Linked DNA regions of Homo sapiens: region 2 is linked to region 1. Evidence: promoter capture Hi-C in human tissues and cell types (Jung and others, 2019). All regions are on one chromosome and are shown on one strand. The core of a region is centred on a gene start or on the middle of the fragment in contact, and the rest is flanking DNA. Distances in the headings are between cores, read along the strand shown.

Region 1 (4,001 bases), core at 224-2,723:
GCGTCCTCTCATGAGGTAGGGAGGCCAGATCTGGGTTGGGGGTGAGGCTGGCAGACATCCCTGAGGTCCAGGGATCTGGAACTGAGGGACACAGACACAGCATCCCATCCCTTTGCTGTATCACACAACGAGAACATTCTCTTTTAAGCCTCCTGATATGTGAAGGAGAAAGTCTCTGTTAGGTGCTAATGGGTATTTAACACCTCTCCAAACCTTGCCAATCTCCCTTTTTCACTGAGGGCACACATCTCAAGCCTTGGCAGGCCACGGTTTCCAGCTGGAATTTAATAACCTTGCTTTGTTTTCACTGTGCTTATTTTAACTCTTACTTTCTATTTATGGCAAGTGATACTGATTTCCCATTTAAGGCAGTGATATAATGATTCTCTAAAAAAACGTGTTTAAGGGGTGGGGAAAGTGGATCTGATATTTTAAAAAATATATTAAGTAATAAGTGGTGTGGAGATATGGCCCAGTGAGAAGGCCCGATGTCTGGCCTAGGTCAAGCCCCTCATTTAAAGGTGGGGAGGGAGAATGCAGGCAGGAGACGCAATGCTCAAGGCACCTGGTGTGTCCCCGTCGGCCGTGGTCTCTGAGACTCGCATGCCTCGAAGACCTCTGGCTACTAAGCCTAGGTGACTCCCCGCCCCTCTGGGCGACACGTGCATGGCCCATGTGCCAGTCCGCAGGGTCCCGTGGGCACCGTGAGCTCGGGAGGGAGGCGGCGGCTGGGACAGGCAGGTTGGACACCTGGGAGGGCACCCGGGGACTTCCGCGAAGGAGGAGGGCGCTGGAACCGTGGCGCGCTCGACCTGGCCGGGCGCAAGCCGCTGGAGACCCCGGCCGAGTGGGCAGGCGGCCGGACCCCATGCGGGTCACCTGCGGCCAGGCCGGGCGTGCGTGTGAGCGCGTGCGCAGACGTCAGCCTCCGAGGCCCGGGCCGCCTTCTGGGCAAGGTGCGCGCGCCCAGCGGCCCCGGCCCCACGCGCCCGGACACGCGGAACCGCAGACCGCGGCGCCCCGGAGGCCGCGAAAGGGATGGGCGGGGCCGGGCCGCGGGACCCGCCTCCCATTGGCCGGGCGCCGGGGCGAGGCGGGGCGCCGGGGTGGGGCGGGGCGAGCGGGCTCTGGGGGGCAGACGCTGGCGCTGGGCGGCGGGAGGCGCGGCTCGCGGGGGGCCGAAGGAGCAGGTGGGCGACGCTCGCAGGGGCGCGGGAGGGTGCCGCTGGGACCGTCATCAGGAGCCTGGGGTTCTGCCACCTTTCGGAGGGATCAGCGACCTCTTCGCCCTGCGGGTGACAGTGGGGCATCTGCCTGCGAGAGGGGGAAGGAGGGAGAACCCAGGGCCACACACAAAGTTCTCCTCATCTGGGGACAGGAGGAGGTGAAGGAGGAGGAGCCGGGTTGATGCTAACTTGGAGCTGCGAAACCTTGGGGCGGCGTTCAAGGCCCCCTCCCACACGCGCGCAGAGCAGAGCGCCCTGCTCCTCCTTCAGCTGCTGGCGTCGCCGCGCGGGGAGAAAGAAGCCGTCCCTCCGGCGCTGGGAGAGCTGCAGAGCCGCGGGCAGAGAAGGAGGCCGCGGCCGAGCCCGGCAGCCCGATACCCCCCATCCGAGCGACCCCCTTTGGGGCAGGCGGAGAAGGTGGCATAGGCGACCAGGAGGGTTCGCCCACCTGGGACACGCACCCACAGTCACCTCCAAAGGACCCCCCCTCCCCAAGTCTCTAGGAGCTGCTCCTTCATCACTGGAGTCGCCCCTACCTCTCTGCCCCCAGCCCGAGAGCCCCAGGCGGGGACCCCCGGATCGGACGTCCCCAAGCCTCCGGGCACCTGGCTCAGCAGGAGGCCCCCGGCTCGGGGCAGGGCAGGGCCGGCGGCGGCGAGCCGGAGCCCGCCCCCTGCCCGGGCCCCGCCGAGCCCTCGGAGCCCACCCATGGGGCACCTGCCCCTTGCGCCTCCTTGCCCGGCCGCGCCCAGCCCGGCGTCCCGAGCAGCGCAGGGGAGGATCCCCGCGCAGTGACCCGGGAGCCACCACAGACTCTGGGAGGCTCGGCGGCTGGAGCAGCAGGCAGCTCCCCGCAGCTCCCGGCGCTTCCAGGCAGCTCTCTGAGCCGTGCCAGAGGCCCGGCCCGCCATTCCCAGGTAGGAGACGCCCCAACAGAGCTGGGCATCTGGGGGAAGTGGAGCAGCCGGGAAGAAAGGGTAGAGGCTTGGAGGAGGAAAGCTCAGTGATTCCTTAGATGACCAGAGAAAGTGAAATTGATTGAGCACCTACTATGTGCCGGGATCGTCTGGCAACTTTGCATACCTAGAGAGAATTAAATTCGTTGAGCACCTACTGTATGTGTCAAACTGAGTGCTATACCCTTGACTTAATCCCAGGAAAGAAAGATTTATTGAGCTTCTACTATGTGCTAGTTTTGGTGCCACAGGCTTTGCATTTAAAGAGCTAGAGTAATAGCCCATTTAAATAGGAGGAAACGGGGGCTCAGGGAAGACGAGTCAACTACCACAAACACTCCTGTCCCTCTTCTGGAGCTGGCTGCAGCCTGCATTACCTGGAGGTGGGGAAGGAAGATTAAGAAGCTCCTTCGTTATCCAGAGTTCTTGAGCTTTTTCTGGGTTGGTGCAGAGTGAGTTTCCTGGATGATTCCCTTCCCAGGAGGGGTTTCCTGTAACTTAGCTGTCTTGGAGGGCCCGGAAGGCAGCTCTGGAGGCCTCTCTGTGCCCTCCCCTCCCCTTGTCCCCAGCACCAGGAGGATGACAGGGGATGTTGTCCAAGACCTCATGGAAGGTGGGAAGCCAGGCTGGGAGGGAGCAGCCAGGTCAGGAGCCAGTGAATCAAGCCTCCTGTGGTGTCAGAGACAAGATGGGGTCCCTGCAAGACCTGCGCCTGCATTCCAGTCCAGCCTCACCAGGCTGCTCTAGGCAGCCCCACGACTGCCAAGATAAAGTGCCACGAAGAAAAGAACCCAGCATGTGTTCAGGTTTGCTGCGGGTCAAGAGCTGGGTCAGCCTCCAGACTTATTGGAAACCCAGGGCCACACAGGGGGTTTATGTCTTACCATTAACAGAGGAATAACCTGAGCCCCAGGAAGCCAAGTCATTTGCCCAGGGCTGCCGGGCTGGTGAGAGGCAGAGTTGGCCTGCCAGAAGTGGATGCCTGCCTACCTTCTACCACCTGAGCTGCCAAGGGTGGTGGGGTTGGCTTTGCCAAGCTCCCGGACTCTCAGAGTGGCAGCTGGAAGCCAGTGATGGCAATGTGCGTGTCCAAAGAGGCTGAGTGTGCACTGATGGAGGAGGCATGGGGGTGTGGAGGAGGGGCAGTGCAGTGAAACAGGCTCTGGGGCATACACCGGGAGGACACGTCCAGACTCTTGTCCTGCTGCCTGTGCCCGTGTGACCCCTTCATCTTTCAGGCAGGCCCTGGGAGAGAGGCTCAAGGGAGAAGTGGTGAATCCACAGGTGCACTTGCTCAGAGGTGGCTGGCAGGGTTAGGGGAGAATCCTGGGAGGTGCCTGCCCCCTTTCCGCTCCGCTGCCTGCAGGGAGAGAGGGAGTGAGAATATAGTATGTCTCGGCGTCATCCCCCCGCCTGATGCCAGCTGAGGCTTCACTGAGACAGACAGTGTTTTGGAAAAGACCAGTTTTGGCTGGGGGTGGGTTTTCATAGAGTTAAGAGCCCAGACTTTGAAGCCAAACAGCCTGGTTCTGATCCCAGCCCAGCTAGTCATCTGCTGTGTGAACTGGGGCAAGTGACTTAACCTCTCTGAGCATCAGTGTCCCCATCAGTCAAGTGGGCTGATGGATGCCTTCCTGGCTGTGGTTACTGTGCCCCCAGGATGGCGTCCCCTCATCTCTGCTCTGGGAACTTTCTGGCTTCCACCTGTCCTCAGAATGGCCCTGTGATGGGGTCAGTAGTCACAGTATGTGCATTCAGATACCTGTGCCGCTAGGGGGTCTCCGTTGAATTTCCTGCCTCTCTGAGCCTCCTCTCTCTG
Region 2 (4,040 bases), core at 851-3,350, 75 kb before region 1:
ATCCACCCATTCATCTACTTACTTACTCATCCATCCATCCATTCATCTATCCTCACTTTTGCTGTGTGCCAGGCCCTGAAGGCACAGCCATGAATAAGAGAAACACAGGCCCTCTTCTCATCCATCTGGAAGACAACAATTAAATAATTGCTTTAAACAAAATGCTATAGGACAGTGTCCTGCTCCGGTGAAGGTAGCCTTTTGTAATAGTGCTCTAGGTCAAGAAGAAGACAGACTCTATTTTAGCACACCAAGTGGTAGAACAGCAAGTCTGGCTGTCTTTGGGGAAGTCCACCCTGGGACCAGATCTCGGTGCTGGTCTCACCATCTCCCCTTCCCTACCTGCAGTGTCTGAAATCTTCCAGTGCTCTCCTGCCCCAACCCTTTCAACAGCAGAGGAAATAGAGGGACAGACAGAGGACAAAGAAGGGGCTCCAAGAAAGATGCTTGATGGTCATTGCAGAAGGCAAGGCCCAGGGTCTAGCTGTGAGGCCCTGTCCCTTGGTTGGGATCAAGTTGACAAGACAAGAGCAGCTGCCCCATGTGTGGCAGGAAGCTATTGCTGAGACCTGGAAGTTGAGTGATCATTATTTTGGATTCTGGCAGTAGGGAGACCATATTGTTTTGTATTTTGTTCCCACCCTCACACAGTAATGATGATGCCAGTGAGGACAACACTGGTTAACACTTCTGCGGGGGAGGTTTGCCCTGTACCAGGTGCAGTTATGTGCCCTGGATACCTATGACTAATTAGAGGTAGGGCTGCTGCCAGCATCCCTTAAACAGGTGTGGCCCCTGGAGGCACAGGGCTGTGAAGTAACTTCCTAAACTCACTCAGCTGTGGCAAAACCAAGCGAGGCCCTTGTAGCTGGGGTTACACTGGAGAGTCACACTCTTCCACGGACTGCCTCAACTACTCCACTCTGCCAACTCAACTATTAGCAGAATGGTGCCTGGGGTAACAGTGGACCACCAAGGACAGTAAAAGTCTCCAAGCACACTCTTTAGGCAGTGGCATGAGGTAGTGGCAGCTTGCCCTCTTCAGGGGGATAAGAGGATAGTGGCTGAGAGTGGTATCCTGGAGCCAGTCTCCTGGGTTTGAGTCCCAACTCTGCCTTTTACTACCGTGTGACTTTGGGCAACTTACCCTCTCTGTGTGTCATTTTTCTCATCTATAAAATAAGACCACTCACAGTGTTTCCGTCAAGGTTGATGTGAAGATTAATGGGATAATGGCGGTCAGGAGCTTGGCCTCGGTCTTATTTCTGTATCAGCTGGGGGACTGTGGGCAGGTACTCAGCCTTTCTAGACCCCACTTTCCTCTTATCTGGGATGAAAAGAAACCCAGCTGGGACCTCACACATGACAAAGGCTCAGTGAGGTGGAGAGTCCCAAGCAGATGAGAGGGATGTCTGGTTGCAGGGCAAAGGGACTGGGTCCTAGGAGTATTTGGATGCGTGGCTGGGTTGGATGAGGCAATCGACAGTGGACAGGCTGTCCTGGGAAGCCTGCTCCCCAGCTGCCTGGGGTGAATGCCAGGGCCTGCAGCTTTCACAGGGGCCGTGGCTGGGGCCAGCATCCGTGCATTCTGGGGCCTGGTCTTGCTGCCTCTTTGAACACTGGCTTCAGGTGTTCAAATTCCTATGGTTCAGTGTCCTCCCTGCGGTCCTGAGTAGCACTGCAGGGCTGTGGCCAGGAGCCCAGGGCTGGTGTTTGACCTTCTGGGCCTATGAGTGCCGAGGTGGCCAGGGCTCCTCTCGGCCTCCTCAGTGTGTTAGGTCTTTCTCCTTTTATTTTTATTTATTTATTTGAGACAAGGTCTTGCTCTGTTGCCCAGGGTAGAGTGCAGTGGGACCATCGTAGCTCACTGCGACCTTGAACTCCTGGGCTCAAGTGATCCTAGGACTACAGATTCCAGTAGCTGGGCCTACAGACATGTGCCACCACATCTGGCTAGTTTTTTTGTTTGTTTGTTTTTGAGATGGAGTCTCGCTCTGATGTCCAGGCTGGAGTGCAGTGGCGCGATCTCAGCTCACTGCAACCTCCACCTCCCGGGTTCAAGTGATTCTTCTGCCTCAGCCTCCCAAGTAGCTGAGGATTACAGGCGCACACCACCATGCCAGGTTAATTTTTGTATTTTTTGTAGAGATGAGGTTTCACTGTGTTGGCCAGGCTGGTCTCAAACTCCCAACCTCAAGTGATCCATCCATCTCAGCCTCCCAAAGTCATGCCTGGCTAATTTAAAAATATATTTATTTTTATAGGGACAAGTTCTTGCTATGTTTCCCAGGCTGGTCTCAAACTTCTGGGCTCAAGTGATCCTCCTGCCTCGGCTTCCCAAAGTGCTGGGATTACAGGCATGAGCCATCCATCTGGCCGCTCTTTCTTTTTAAATTATTTATTGAAAAAAATTAAAAAATTTTTATGGGTACATAGTAGGTGTATATATTTACTGGGTAGATGAGATATCCATTACCTCAAGCATTTATCCTTTGTGTTACAAACAACCCAATTATACTGTTAGTTATTTTGAAATGTACAATTAAATTATTATTGGCTATAATTACCCTGCTGTGCTATCAAATACTAGATCTTATTCATTCCTTTTTTTCTGAGACAGGGTCTTGTTCTGTCACGTAGGCTGGAGTACAGTGCTGTGATCATGGCTCACTGCAGCCTTGACCTCCTGGGCCCAAGCAATCCTCCCACTTCAGCCTCCCAAGTAGCTGGGACTATAGGTGTGCACCACCATGTCCGGCTAATTTTGTTTATTTTTTACAGAGACAGGGTCTTACTATGTTTCCCAGGCTGGTGTTGAACTCCTGGGTTCACAAATTCCTCCTGCCTCAGCCTCCCAAAGTGTTGCTATTATAGGTGTGAGCCACCATGCCTGGCCTTATTCATTCTTTCTACTATATTTTTGGACCCATTAACCATCCCTACTTTCCCCTGCCCCCCAACTACCCTTCCCAGCGTATAACCATCATTCTACTCTCTATCTCCATGGTTCAATTGTTTTAATTTTTAGCTCCCACAAATAAGTGAGAACATGTGAAGTTCGTCTTTCTGTGCCCGGCTTGCTTCACTTAACATAATGACCTCCAGTTTCATCCATGTTGTTGCAAATGACAGGATTTCATTCTTTTTTTTTTTTTTTTTTTTTGAGACGGAGTCTCCCTCTGTCGCCAGGCTGGAGTGCAGTGGCACGATCTCGGCTCACTGCAACCTCCAACTCCCTGGTTCAAGCGACTCTCCTGCCTCAGCCTCCCAAGTAGCTGGGATTACAGGCGTGCGCCACCATGCCCAGCTAATTTTTGTATTTTTAGGAGAGACAGGGTTTCACCGTGTTGGCCAGGGTGGCCTCTATCTCCTGCCCTTGTGTTCTGCCCGCCTTGGCCTCCCAAAGTGCTAGGATTACAGGCGTGAGCCACTGTGCCCAGCCTTTTGCCCATTTTAAAACTGGGTTATTAGGATTTTTCCTATAGGGTTGTTTGAGTTCCTTATCTATTCGATTATTAATCCCTTGTCAGATGTATAGTTTGCAAATATTTTCTCCCCTTCTGTGGGCTGTCTCTTCGCCTTGCTGATTGTTTCCTTTGCTGTGCAGAAGCTTTTTAACTTGATGGGATCCCATTTGTCCATTTTTGCTTTGGTTGCCTGTGCTTGTGAGGTATTTTTCAAGAAATCCGCCCAGAACAACGTCCTGGAGAGTTTCCCCATCTCCTTTTTTTCAAGTCTTATGCTTATTTATATTTATAAATATGACTTTTAGGTTTTTTTGAGGTGTGATTTGCCTCTTTTCAGTGCACAGTTTTACAAGTTTTGAAAAACAAAGTCACGCAAACACTGCCACAATCAAGACACGGAGCAGTTCCATCACCCCCCCGAAATTCTCTAATCTCAGCCCCTCAGCATCCCTGGATGCCAGGCTTAAGAAGTGGACTTCCTTCCCCTGGCAGAAGGAGGGCAGGGTCGGGCTCCGCGTCTGGGGGCTGTAGGCAGGGCTGGGGCTGTGCCATCTGCCTGCTCCTTCCTTCTGG

The links. Contacts are between HindIII fragments. The study calls those that stand out against the background at their distance.
Region 2: a fragment that was not itself captured here is called in contact with the fragment with the promoter of RASD2 in region 1 in 2 of the 25 tissues and cell types used here (adrenal gland and dorsolateral prefrontal cortex).

The regions. Positions count from the first base shown.
Region 1 is chr22:35,539,358-35,543,358 of GRCh38, forward strand. RASD2 (RASD family member 2) reads left to right here and starts at 1,474. Exons shown (of 3, transcript NM_014310.4): 1 at 1,474-2,143. RefSeq lists enhancers at 136-698, 699-1,261, 1,262-1,824 and a silencer at 946-1,165. The HindIII fragment of the contact is 17,894 bases long and covers 1-4,001 here.
Region 2 is chr22:35,463,826-35,467,865 of GRCh38, forward strand. No RefSeq gene overlaps it. Among named protein-coding and RNA genes, the nearest start is that of MCM5, 66 kb to the left of the region's middle. The HindIII fragment of the contact is 6,473 bases long and covers 1-4,040 here.